Linked DNA regions of Homo sapiens: region 1 is linked to region 2. The links are contacts of gene promoters, found by promoter capture Hi-C in blood cells and fetal thymus (Javierre and others, 2016). All regions are on one chromosome and are shown on one strand. Each heading gives the region's core, a stretch centred on a gene start or on the middle of the fragment in contact. The rest is flanking DNA. Distances are from core to core; before and after follow the strand shown.

Region 1 (6,791 bases), core at 3,638-6,137, 110 kb after region 2:
AACCCAGGTAGTCTAACTCCAGAGCCTGTGCAACTAACAACTTGTGGTTCTGCCATGAATCCTAAAGTCTAAGGATGCCCTTGCACGCTGACCTCCTCTAGTGACCAGGGAGGTGTAGCCTGTGGGGGTGCCGAGAAGCCTCAATAAAACCAGCAATAAGCCCAGAGAGACAGAGGCTTGAGAGAATTATTGCTCCCAGATGCTCACAAAAGACTTTCAGCCACTGTATCAGCTACCAGAGGTGTGATAATGCTGCCTAACAACCTACCCCAAACTCCTAGTGGCATGCAGTGGTGAGCACTTATTGCTGACACATCTGGGGACAGTTGGGGCTGTCAGGCAGCCCTGCTAATTTGGGCTGGACTCACTCATATGTTTAGGGGTCAGCCAGGGTTGGCTGATCCAGTGTGGGTCAGACTGGGCAGCCTGGCTCTGCATGTCTCACCCACCTCCCGGGAGGGCCCTGCATGGCAAAGGGCATGGATGCAGGGAGGATGAAGAATCAGGGCCATCTTGGTCAGCCACCACATCCACATTCTCTCTGACTCAAATGAGAAGCATAAACTAGGGCAGGGCAGAGGGAGGGCACTCACTGGGCTGGAGCTCTGAACTCACCACTGACAGGCAGTCAGTGGCTGAGTCACTTAACCTCCCTGGGCCTCAGTTTTCCCCATCTGTGAAATGGACACCTGCCCTGTCTCCTTACTGGGGAGCCAATGAAATGACAGAGGCTAGTGAATGGGGCAGAGAGGGCCATTACTACTACTGACTTCGCTCCCTGGACTCAAATATTCCCTCTGTCTTTTTTTGAGATGGAGTTTCGCTCTTGTTGCCCAGGCTGGAGTGCAGTGGCACGATCTCGGCTCACTGCAACCTCCACCTCCCTGGTTCAAGCGATTCTCCTGCCTCAGCCTCCCGAGTAGCTGGGATTACAGACACCCACTACCACACCCAGCTAATTTTTTATTTTTTTAGTAGAGACGGGGTTTCATCATGTTGGCCAGGCTGGTCTCGAACTTCTGACCTCAGGTCATCCACCCACCTTAGTCTCCCAAAGTGCTGGGATTAAAGGCGTGAGCCACTGCACCCGGGCTTCCCTCTCTCTTTTTGTTCCTTAAGAGAGGAAGGCTCATTCCTAGCAGGCCTCAGACCTCAGGCCTCCGGCATATCCTTGGGGGTCCACTTCCCAGAAACTGAGTCCTATCAAGTTGAGACACAGGTTGAGTCTACAAAGGTCCTCATGGCAGTGGGCCAGGGGACCACGTGAAGGCAGAGAATAAACAGGCAGCATCTTCCCATAGCATCCATTTTCTGTGAAGATCAGAAGGGAAGAAAAAACTTTATATTGAAATGAACCCAGCTATATTATGAAGTTGCAAAATTCAAATTAAGCTTTCAGATGAAGAATGAGACTTCCAAGACATTTTGCTATTGTTAGTGCTGCGTGCTAGACCCCAGATCATCACTTTACTGCAAACTAGAGCCTGCAAACCAAATCTGTTTTGTAAATAAAGTTTTATTGGAACATGGCTATGCCCATATGGCTGCTTTTGCACTGCAACGGCCGAGTTGACTAGTTGTGACAGAGACCATATGGTCTGCAAGTCTGAAATATTTAGTATCTGGCCCTTTACACAGAAAGTTTGCCAGCCGCTAAACTACTTGGATTCTTTGATGAAAAGGTTTCAAGAATTCTGTGCTGCTCTAATATCGGAGGCCCGCAGGTCTAAGGAATTAAGAGTAAATGTTTATTGCACAGTTACTATTCTGAGTGCTTTCAGTGAATAAACTGTTGTTTGATTCTAACAATCCTAAGACATAAATGGTATTGTTATTGCTTCTCTTTGATAGGTGAGAAACTCAAGGAATAGAGTGAAATGTACCCTAGCCCAGTGCCTCTCAAATGTTAATATGCAGAGGAACAAAATCATCTGGGGATCCTATTAAACCACAGACACCGAAGATGGGAAATTCTGCATTTCTAACCAGCGACTGAGCTGTGCTGATGCTGCTGGCCCAGGCCACACTCCGTAGAGAGGAGCCAAACCACAGACTCACTACACAGAGGCACTGGGGGTCTTAAGCCCAGGCCCCCAGCCCCTAAGCCACGTGGCTCCTCAGAGTAGTTGTTCTGAATGAGTCACAAACCCCGTGAGAATTTCGCATCTGGCCAGGCACGGGGGCTTACGCATGTAATCTCAGATCACCTGGGGTCAGGAGTTCGAGACCAGCCTAGCCAACATGATGAAACCCCGTCTCTACTAAAATTACAAAAAATTAGCCGGGCATGGTGGCGGGCACCTGTAATCCCAGGAACTCAGGAGGCAAAGGCAGGAGAATCGCTTGAACCTCCTGATGGAGGTTGCTGTGAGCCGAGATGGCGCCACTGCATTCCAGCTTGGGTGGCAGAGCGAGACTCTGTCTCAAAAAAACAAACAAAAAACAAAGCAAAACAAAAAATCCTGACAGCAATGTGATGGAACAGACCAAGCATCTGTTCCTCTCCCTGTTTGTAGATAGGCACCCCGGGCCAGAAAGCCTGTGGGATTGGCCCAAGGTCACACAGCAAATTCACAGCAGGTGTTTGTTCAGTGGCCTCATACAGGACAAACTTTATTTTTATATTAAAACAAACAAAGATACAGAGCAGAACGCCAAATTCACATGAACCTTTAAGATAAAATATGAGACTTAAGAAATAGTTGGTTGCTGTAGTGACTCATACAGACCACAAATGAGTCCAAACTGTTACAGGGATTATGGGATGGAGTTGGGACTGGAATCTACATCTTCTGACATCCAGTCCCATGGGATGCTGCCCCCCACCCAATCTTTCTCACCTTTGCACCATCCTAGGGAGATTGCAGAATTCTTTCCCACCCATTTTCTTACCCGTACAACAATCCTGCAATCCAGGCCTGGATGGTTATCTAGGAAAGTAAGGCCCAGAAGATAAGTGGCTTGTCCAGACCACCACACTCAAAATTGATGGATCAAAGACTTGAACTCGGCTGGGCGCGGTGGTTCATGCCTGTAATCCCAGCACTTTGGGAGGCCGAGGCGGACGAACACGAGGTGAGGAGTTCAAGACCAGCCTGGCCAATATGGTGAAACCCCGTCTCTACTAAAAATACAAAAATAAGTCGGGTGTGGTGGCCGGTGCCTGTAGTCCCAGCTACTAGGGAGGCTGAGGCAGAAGAATCACTTGAACTTGAGAAGCAGAGGTAGCAGTGAGCCGAGATCGCGCCACTACGCCCTAGCCTGAGTGACAGAGCGAGACTCCGTCTCAAAAAAAAAAAAAAAAAAAAAAAAAAAAAAAAAAAAAAAACACTTGATATCAAGTCTTAAGAGTGTGGAGCTGGTCTTTTTTTTTTTTTTTTTTGAGATGGAGTCTTGCTCTGTTGCCCAAACTAAAGTGCAGTGGTGCGATCTCAGCTCACTGCAACCTCCACCTCCAAGGTTCGAGAGGTTATCCTGCCTCAGCCTCCTGAGTAGCTGGGACTACAGGCATGCAGCCCCACACGCTACTAATTTTTGTATTTTTAGTAGAGACGGGGTTTCACCATGTTGGCCAGGCTGGTCTTGAACTCCTGGCCTCAGGTGGTCTGCCCGCATCAGCCTCCCAAAGTTCTGGGATTATAGGAGTGAGCCACCGTGCCCGGCCGTAAAGTGCATTTTCATCCACCAGATGAAGCCCTCCTCTGCCAGCGTTCTGCTTCCCCCCATCATTAGAGTGGCCAGATCCTAATTGTGCATGTCGGCCTTGCCTTCTGCTACATGTGCACCTTCCCCGCATTATGCAAATTCTGCTACATGTGCACCTTCCCCACATTATACAAATCCTTACCACAATGTTGTGAAACAATACTGGGCATGGGTTTCTCTCCCTGTTTCACAGATGGGTCTAGAGACTTACATGACTCAGCCAAGGTCACATTGCAACCCCTGGTATGGCCTAGAACAGGCTTTCTCAGTCTCAGCACCATTGACATTTGGGGCAGGGCGAGTCCTATTGCCCAGTGCATTGTCGGGTGTTTAGCAGCGTCTCTGCTCTCTGCTCCCTGCCCACTGGATGCCAATTTACATCAACCCCAGCCATGACAACCAAAATTCTCTCCAGATGTTGTCAAACGTCTCCTGGTGGGCTGAACCAGCCCCATTGAGAAATACTGCCTTAGAATGCTGTGGGCTCAGCATGCCACCTTAATCTTTTCATTGAAAACACAACTCCTGGCCGGGCATGGTGGCTCAGCCTGTAATCCTAGCACTTTGGGAGGCCGAGGCGAGCAGATCACTTGAGGCCAGGAGTTCGACACCAGCCTGGCCAACATGATGAGACCCCCCGTCTCTACTAAAAATACAAAAATTAGCCAGCAATGGTGGCACACACCTGTAATCCCAACTACTAGGGAGGCTGAAGCAGGGGAATTGCTTGAACCCAGGAGGCAGAGGTTGCAGTGAGCTGAGATCACGCCACTTCATTCCAGCCTGGGTGACAGAGCAAGACTCCATCTCAGAAAGAAAAAAGAAAGAAAGAAAGAAAGAAAACACAACTCCTCTCCTCAGTCTTACCCAGGGAGGGGAACAAAAACAAACAAACAAAAAAAAAAACAACTCCGAGCACCAACAATTAGTATTTTTCTTCCTTCCCTAACACACAACATAATCTCTTCAAAACAGATGGAACCCATATTCCAATATCTACCTTTGGCATCTTTTTCAAAGTATTTCTAGGGTGACATTTGGGAGGAAATGGGAAAAAAAAAATATTTGGACACAGCTCTTTTTTCCACTGGGCTTTGAGAAAACCCCATCTTGCGTGCTCTTACTGTATCTCTCACTGATAAGTCCGCTCATAAAACCAGGGCCTTATCCAGGGCCACGCTTACAGAACTCCCACGGACACACCATGATAAGGACGCTGCTGCTGTCCACTTTGGTGGCTGGAGGTAAGTCCTGTTACCCAGAGGCACTGGTTTCCCATGCCCTGGTGGGGCTGGAAATGGGATCTTCCTGTCCTCCCCTCTCGCCCCCACCCAACCCCTACTGCATTCAGACCTATAATCATAAGAACATTGGAATGGAGTTTCAAAGAATTGGAGCAAAGAGCAGGATTCTATGACCTCTTGGGATCCTTCTAGAACAAGGGTTTTCTATTTGGGGGGTCAGAATGCGCAGCAAGTGTAGTTTACATTGTGTGGGTCGCTGCTTCCTGACTCAAGACCCTTTCTCTTTTCACAGCCCTCAGTTGTGGGGACCCCACTTACCCACCTTATGTGACTAGGGTGGTTGGCGGTGAAGAAGCGAGGCCCAACAGCTGGCCCTGGCAGGTGAGTTGACCACACTGTACTTCTCCCCGTCCCTGCCCCACTCCCTTTACATCTCCCCTTTGCCCTTCCACCATGGCGTCTATTGTGCTGGCAAAGTGAGTATTGATGGGACTCAGAGAGCAGCACAGGCAACTTTAGCAATAAGATATATTTCCGGCTGGGCGCAGTGGCTCATGCCTGTTATCCCAGCACTGTGGGAGGCTGTGGTGGGCAGATCACCTGAAGTCAGGAGTTTGAGACCAGCCTGGCCAACATGGTGAAACCTGCCTCTACTAATAATACACAAGTAGCCAGGTGTGGTGGCACACGCCTGTAATCCCAGCAACTGGGGAGGCTTAGGCAGGAGGATCGCTTGAACCCAGGAGGCAGAGGTTGCAGTGAGCTGAAATTGCACCACTGTACTCCAGCCTGGGCAACAAAGCAAGACTCTGTCTCAAAAAAAAAAAAAAAGATACATTTCTGTGGCCTTGGCCAACCTTGGGAGTGGAGGGAGAGGTGCCTCCTCCAGCTGCAGTAAGGAGCTGTCCCCTCCCCACTGCCCATAGGCAGCAAATATAGTATTACTCTATTAACCAATCAGAGGCTTGTTTACAAATGTACCATCAGTCTAGGAACCATTCAAGACTACCTATGCAAACATTCCTTGCTTTAAGGAACCAATCAGTGCTATTTGCGCAGATTAATCTTTAACCACAGGCAAATCAATGTTACCAATGAAAAAAATGTTTTCTTAAGTTGATATAATCATAGTGGTATCAAGACTAAACTGCCAAGTGGGGCACAGGTGTAAATTACTCAGACGTGTTAATGGTGGGGATTTTAAGAGAAATGTGTAAAGTTTACATTGACATAAACAAATATAGTGAAATCTCATTTATCTGATGTAATTGGGACCGAGTAATTGAAAAGTTGGTTATAAAGAAATTATTTTAAATCATATATATATAGTAAAGATTTTATCTTAGACTATGTAAACAATTTTTTGAGTTCTTAACTGTCTTTTTCATATAAGCCATGCCCCATATCTTATCTACAAACCCGTTTCTTTAAAGCAGAGCAGTAACTTTGAGACGTTCACAAAGCAATCTGAGTTATGAGCCCATCCAATCTTTCCATTTTCTCACAGACACTACTTCAAGAGCAATTTTTTAAGAGTCATGGTGATCCAGTCTCTTCCAAGCATTTAACTTTGTTTCCATATAAATAACGACTCTCTTTCTGAACTCATATTTCATTGGTTACATGTTTAATCAAATTTCATTATTACAAGCATAATTGATATAAACTGCTTTGGGAGCAAACCCAGCTGAATCAGGATGAGTTTCTACCTTAAGTAGGAGGAGCAACTAGCAGCCCACTAGCCTTGAGCATTCAGAGTGACCCATGCAGCAGTCACTGTGTTTAGAGAGGCCAGCGTTCATTCATCTGCTCCTTGATTAAGAGACTGTCAATGATAGGCCA
Region 2 (7,129 bases), core at 88-2,587:
TTGCTAAAAATGCAGATCTTGGTCTCCACCCTCCAGACCCATTAAATCAGAACATCTGGAGAGGGCCAGGAAACTGTATTATTTAATGAGCTGATTCTCATCACTGTCCTAGAGTTGGCCCTTTTTTTTCTTAAGATGGGGTCTTGCTCTGTTGCCCAGGCTGGAGTGCAATAGTGTGACCATAGCTCACCACAGCCTCGAACTCCCAGGCTGCAGTGGTCCTCCCACCTCAGCCTCCCAAGTAGCTGGGACCACAGGCATATGGCACTACACCCAGCTAATTATTATTTTTTTTTGTAGAGATGGGATCTTGCAATGTTGCCCAGGCTGGTCTTGAACTCCTGGGCTCAAGTGACCCTCCCACCTCAGTCTCTCAAGTAGCTGGGACCACAGGCACACACCACCACACCCAGCTAATATTTTTATTTTTTGTAGAAATGAGGTCTCTCTCTATGTTGCCCAGGCTGGTCTCAGACTCCTGGCATCAAGTGATCCTCCCACCTCAGCCTCCAAAAGTTCTGGGATTACAGGTATGAGCCACCATACCTGAGGGTTGGCCCTTTTTGATATTCAGGGACCCCTCCCATGAATTTCACTGTCTTTATGACTTTTGTCATTTAGGAGATTAAAAATTACTAATGCCTTGCACCTCTCCCCGCCGACTCTCCACATTCTGATCTTAGTGGGGTGAGGGTGTGGCCCCTGCTGTGGGATTTCTAAGCACTCCCGGGTGGTCGCAAAGTGCAGCCACGGTTGCGAGCCACTGTTGTGGGTGGGTGTGGAGCAGCGTGTGCATGCTGCCCCTCCTCACAGCCCCCTCAAGACAGCAGCCCCCCAGATCCACCGGACCCCAACTCTTCCCAGATATCTCCTCTCTTCCCCGGAAGAGTACTGGACCTGCCCCCTTCTCCATCTTTCCCCAGCTCCTTCTCTACCACACACACCTGCCCTCCAGACCTCTCCCTCTTTCATCTCCATCCTCACATGTGTGTCCAGTTACCCCAAAACATCAGTCTCCTCCTCCTTCTTCTCTTTGCCTCTTTCTCTGCTTTTCTGCATTTGCGAAATAAAAGATTAAAAAAGAAGAGCCATCTGACCAAATCATGTGCAATCCGCATAAAGGTAATATTAATGATAGCTATAAATCAAGATGGGCACATTTTGAAGGGCATTTAGATACGGAAAAAGCCAGCACCGTTCCATAGAGAAGAAAATAAAACCAGAAAGTACCTAGAAATCTTCAAAATCTTCGCAGAACTCTCCACCGACTTCCTTTTTTCTTCTCTGATTACCTTCTCCTTTTAACATCGGCATCCCAAATGCCTTATTTTCTCTTTTTAATTTTGGATGGACTTTTTCCCTTGTCAGGGTTTGGTATTTCAGCCCCACCATGTTAAACACTGCGTTGGGCGCCTGCCTAGTCTTCCTAGACAACCCTGGCGACACTGGCCTGGCAGAGTGTTTTAAGAGCTGGCGTCAGCCCCTCTTTTAAACCTGAAAACCTCGGTGCACCCTACCCTCCTTGCAGAGGGAGGAAGCAACATCAGGTCCCTGCCAGACAGACTGTGACACTCGAAGGTCGCCCTTCCTCTGATACTCGGATTGATGGACTTGACCCTGGGGACTCCTTGGAAAGTTACCTCTTGGACTTCAGTGCCAAGTGTCCTGACTAAATGAGCCTTCCTTAGACCTTCTGACTCCCATCACCTGCCCTTTCCGAAAATACATGTGTCCAGGGTCATTAATCTCATGAATCTTGACTTGTTTGAGGACTTTGTTTCAAAGGGAAAAAAAATTCTATGTTCCTTTATCAATCTAACATTCTTTTCTTATTGCCAGTTGTTGACAACAATCCCTTGGTTTGTGCACACACCAATGGGTTAGATCAGGGATTGGCCAAATTGTCCCATAAAGAGCCAGATAGTAAATATTTTCAGTTTTGCAGGTCATATGCTCTCTGCTCTTCTGCAAAAGCAGCCATAGACAATACACAGCAAGCACAGTGTTCCAATAAAACTTTATTTACAAAAACAGACCAGATTTGGTCTGTAAGCCATAGTTTGCTAACCTCTGGTTTAGAACACAGGCTTCAGAATCAAATGGGTCAGAGTTAGAATCCCTCCTCTTGTGATTTACTAGTAAACTGGGTGGATTCTTGAATGTAAGCCTGTTTCCTCCTCTGCAAGGTGGGAAGCATGGTTATCACTGTGCCAAGCATTTCGTGTTCATCGTCGCATCCACCCCTCACATCAACCCAACACAGGAAGACTATTACTGTCTCCGTTGTACAGGCAGGGAAACTGAGGCTCTGGTAGCTTCACTTCCCCAGTGCCTTACAGCTGGAAAGGATCAACCTGGGGCTCTACCCTGGGTCTCCTGACTCCAGAGCACATGCTCTGAGCTCCTAGGCTCTGCTGCCCACAGCCTCCCCAGGGGAGTGCGGTGAGGAGTGAAGAGGTAGCACATGCAGTGCCTGGCAGCGTCCAAATTCCTGCCATGGTAACCATGTCTGTTAAACAATGGTCATTGGTTTCCAGGCTTTGGAGGAGTACATTACTCAAGAGAGAAACAGAGCGAAAGAGACTTTAGAGGAAGAACGGAAGAGAATGCAAGAACTGGAGAGCCTCCTGGCCCAGCAGAAGAAGGTATGTGGCTCAGGGAGACAGAGTCAGCTCGAGCCCCACTGCAGCTAGGAAGGGTGGATCTGGGGCTCTGGTCTGGGCCCGCCGGCTCTGAGCTCCAGGGCTGTGCTGTCCACAGTCCCCTAGGGAGGTGTAGTCTGGAGGGAAGAGGAAACCTGTGCGGTGCCTGGCAGAGTCCAGTTTCCTCCCATGGTAACCATGTCTATTGAACAATGATCGTTGACTCAGGCTTTGGCGAAAAGCATTACCCAGGAGAAGAACAGAGTGAAGGAAGCATTAGAGGAAGAGCAGACAAGAGTCCAAGAGCTGGAGGAACGCTTGGCCCGCCAGAAGGAGGTACGCTCGGGGAGATAGAGTCGGCTGAGCCCCAGTCGGCTTGAGGGCCATGTGGAAGGAAGTTCAGAGCGGCGATGATGGGGGTGAGATCGTGGTGGAGCCTTCCTCGTGGAGTTTGCGTTTGGGTGGGCTCAGCTACTTTGGGAAGCGTGGGAGACTCAAGGAGGGAACCCTGGAGTTGTAGCCTTGACAACCAGTTGGGAAAAAATTGTAAACAGTGTAAAACACAGTCAGAGAGAGAGAGCGCTTGGGAGACAAGTAGGAATGGTGACATGGGCGTCTTCTGTGTTCCAAAGCACAGAAACGGGAGAATGACAGAGTCATGGGACCTCAGGGCTGCGTGGACCCTCCACCAGCATCCTAAAAGCCTCCAGCCTTCAGCACCACCACTAAGGAATGTTCTCCACCCCAGGACAGTCCGTCCCAGCATGGATGCCTCAGGCCGACAGAAAGTTTTCCCTTTAGGTTGAGTTGTGTCAAACTCTTACGCCCCGGAGGAGTATCAGTCCTCCGCCCTCCCCTGCGCTCCCACAAGATACATCTACTTCCTCTTCCACATGATGACTCAGATGTGTGAAAACAGGGGCGCCCGCACCCTGTGTCTGCTCCTCCCCGGGCCCAAGCGCCCTTGTTCCTCAGGTCCCTCACAGGACTAGAGCCTGGCCCTGGCTGCCTCCTGTGGCCTGTGCTGCTCTCCAGAAGTCACAGACTGGTAGCTCAGCGACTAAAAAGGGCCTGTGGAAGTTATATTTGGCCCCGGAATATTTTACTTTGAATTCATAAAATCTATTTAAAAGTTCAGATTTCCAGCCTCTCCCGAAAAGTCAGAAAATCTAGCCCTTGTTTCTACTTAGCAAAAATGGACTAGAAGCCTTACCGGGTAGCAGCAGTTTGCCAGAGTCCTCACCACTCCCCGTTGCATTAAACACAGCCCACGTCATTTTTGGTATCTGTCCGGGCTTCATAGGCATTGAGTTTGTCACCCATCACCCATTTTCTTCCTAAAGGGAGGTGGCCAGAACCACTGTTCTCCAGCCACGGTAGCCTAGGGGAGGACTCCTCCCTCCCGCATTGAAGATATTCTACTTCTGTTAATGCATCCAAACTAGCTTTTGGGAAAGCTCTGTCACATTTGTGGATTCATGTTTAGCTTGTGGTCACCCTCAGATCCCTGATCCTTTTTCACATCTGCTTTCATGAATTCCTCAATCCTGACACAGCACAGAGGAGTGCGGGCTTTGCAGCCAGATGAGACACAAGTTCAAATCCGAGCTGGGCTACTTCCTGGCTGCAGCAGACCTACCGCTGCCTCCCTTCTCGAAGGGGCGGCTGTGGGCTCAGATCTAGTGTATAATGGAGGGCCTGGCCTGCGGAATGATTGCCGAGTAAACGGCAGCTGTTACTACTGTCTCTGCTGCCACTTGTGCCTCTTCTTCTGTTTGGGCATTTGTTTTTCTTCAACACTGACTCCTTGAGTAAAATCCTTGCCCACCCACTGCTGCAGGAGAAACAAAAAGACCTCTGGGCAAAGCCTGTGCCATTTGATCTGACCCAGGACAGAGAGACGTTTACATGTCGGTTCTCCCTTGGCGTCTCTGGCACAGGTGTGCCCTGCAGCCCTCTCACAGAGCGTCACTGAGGTTTGCCCCCAAGTGATTTCTCCAGGGGTGGGGATGAGGAGGAGGGTCTCCAAAGAGTTACTTGAGTCAAATGCCCCAAGATGTCAACAGCAAAAGCCTGGGGAAGATTCTTGAATTTAGAGACTTTGAGGCCACGGGGCTCAGGAGATAAATTCAAGCTTCATTGCAGAGGATCTGTGGTTGGGTCACCCCGCGTCTGTTAAAATGTCAGCCTACTTCTGACAGAACTTCTCTGTGGCTTCCTATCGGGGGAATTTGAAAGAGCAGCCCCAGCCACAGGCTCCATTCAACTGCCAGTGGCTATTTGATTTTCTTTTTTTCTGTCTCCCAGGCTGGAGTGCAGCGGCATGATCTTGGTTCACTGCAACCTCTGCCTCCCGGGTTCAAACGATTCTCATGCCTCAGCCTCCCAAGTAGCTGGGACTACAGGTGCACCACCATGCCTGGCTAATTTTTTGTATTTCTAGTACAGACGGGGTTTCACCACGTTGGCCAGGCTGCTCTTGAACTCCTGGCCTCAAGTGATCTGCCTGCCTTGGCCTCCCAAAGTGCTGGGATTACAGGCGTGAGCCACCGCTCCCGGCCTGATTTTCTTTTCATTAGATCTTCCGCCACATCATCAGGGTTTTTAAGGTCAACAGAATCACTAGGTCATAATCTGGGTCTTGAGGTCATGTTCAAAGTTAATCCCCATTATCTGTTGTGAACTTGGAAGCACAGCAACTGAGCATGTAGGGCCTGTGTGTGAGCCAGGCAAGGCCTCTCTTACCAATAGTACCTGTCCCGACTGCAGAGAAGCCACCCAGAGGAAGGCCTGGCGAGTGTAGACGCAGAGTCAGACACAGCAGAGCCAACCCTAAGTCCCTAGGAAGTGCCTCAAAGTCTCTTTTACAATTCACAGGAAAATGTCCTACCCTGAAACCCACTTCAAAGGATCCAAATAAACGTGAAATTCTTATGATGTCACTTTTCTTCTGCTTTAAGGCTGGTGTTGGGACAGCAGAGTGTTAGAGTTTTGTCAACTACTTTTCACTGCAAAGTATACAATATCTCAGCCATATTCTGGATTAAACACTTTTTACAGGCTCATCTGGGGCCCTAACCAGTGGTTATAATGGAAACCATGTTCCAAGTTCTAAATGCCTGACAGTGAACCTCGTGTTTGAAAGACAAGCCGTTAGAAAATAGAGGTGGCCCTTCTCATGGTGACTGGAAACAGGCTGGCAGTGTATTTCCTTTGGTGATTTGCATTAAGCTGTTTAGTTGAATAGCTTACCAGCAAGTAACTTCCCAGACAAAACTCCTTGATTAGGGCCACTAAATACTGGCCACACTTTCTTCCCTACATCCTACCAGAACATTGCTTGTCCCTTCTAGAAATTGGTGTATCGTGGCTCATTAGTCCAACATACTGCCCTTCTCTTGAAACTGGATTCTGTTGGAGAGACTTATTTCAATAATGGAAATTCCATTATTAATGAGACTCTTCTTTTGATCAGAGAGGCTGCCTGGCCTCGTGATAGGAAGCTGCCCCCGCTGCTCCCGGGTGCCCTGTCGAGAGCTCTTTATTCAGGCTCAGTGCTTTCCTCTGCGCAGGCTTCAGATCCTGGCCTCACCACTGACAAAGGGTGTGGCTCTGGGCCCTCTCCGACTTCCTGCTCCTCGGTTTCCTCATCTGTAAAATGGGCCACTCTCAGCACTTCTCTGACAGAGTTGCTGTGAGACTGAAGGGCTGGCCAGGGGCCCAGGTGTATTTAATAGCCGCCCCAACACTTTGGCTGTTATTGTTACTATTATTATTATTATTATCATTATCATTACTAGCAATTTCCCCCCTAAATGTGCAGGCCACCAAGAGCACTGGTCGTTGATTTTCAGGTTTTGGAGAGCAGCATAGCCCATGAAAAAAGAAAAGCAAAGGAAGCCTTGGAGTCGGAAAAGAGAAAAGTTCAGGATCTGGAGAACCATTTAACCCAACAGAAGGAGGTATGAGCAGCAGCAGGAAAGAATCCTCTGGAAGGAACTACAAAGCCAGATCCCTGGGAGAGTACAGTGGGAAATCGGGCAGATATCAGAGCCATGCCTCCCTTTGAAGTGGCCAAGATCTGCCGTTTACTGGCTGTGTGACCTCCGGCAGATCGCCACCTCCCCATCCCTCAGTTTCCTCATCTGTGAAATGGGAATGCTAACAGTCCCTGCCTCATCGGATTAGATGCTCTCAGGTGTCAAGTACATAGGACTGCACCCTGCATCCTAGAGGGCCCTCGGGAAGATTTTTCTGCTCTCTGGTTCAGCTACCTAGGAAAGAGGGATCCTCCCAGGAGAGAATCCTGAGTTTCAGCCAGGGTCAGGGGCTTAGTGAGCATCATCCTCACAGTAGAGCGGCATGTGTGCCACACCTGGCATGGCCAAGGGAGAAAGCACTGCTCCTGGCCCGGCCTCCTGGTGTCATGGACTCCGGAGCAGGCCCTCCCTTGACTGGCTGAGGAGTAAAAGCACAAAGAGCACAAA

What was found. Contacts are between HindIII fragments. The CHiCAGO score rates a contact against its expected background, and 5 or more counts as called.
Region 1: the fragment with the promoter of CELA2A here is called in contact with the fragment with the promoter of FHAD1-AS1 in region 2 in 13 of 17 cell types (neutrophils, total B cells, monocytes and 10 more); the score reaches 12.6 in neutrophils.

The regions. Positions count from the first base shown.
Region 1 is chr1:15,451,845-15,458,635 of GRCh38, forward strand. It overlaps CELA2A (chymotrypsin like elastase 2A), which reads left to right and starts at 4,888. Exons shown (of 8, transcript NM_033440.3): 1 at 4,888-4,949; 2 at 5,242-5,330. The coding sequence starts at 4,910. The HindIII fragment of the contact is 8,750 bases long and covers 1,391-6,791 here.
Region 2 is chr1:15,342,546-15,349,674 of GRCh38, forward strand. FHAD1-AS1 (FHAD1 antisense RNA 1) reads right to left here and starts at 1,338. Exons shown (of 2, transcript NR_148919.1): 1 at 1,231-1,338. It overlaps FHAD1 (forkhead associated phosphopeptide binding domain 1), which reads left to right. Exons shown (of 34, transcript NM_001391957.1): 17 at 2,538-2,645; 18 at 2,871-2,978; 19 at 6,497-6,604. RefSeq lists an enhancer at 3,248-3,447. The HindIII fragment of the contact is 5,872 bases long and covers 1-4,774 here.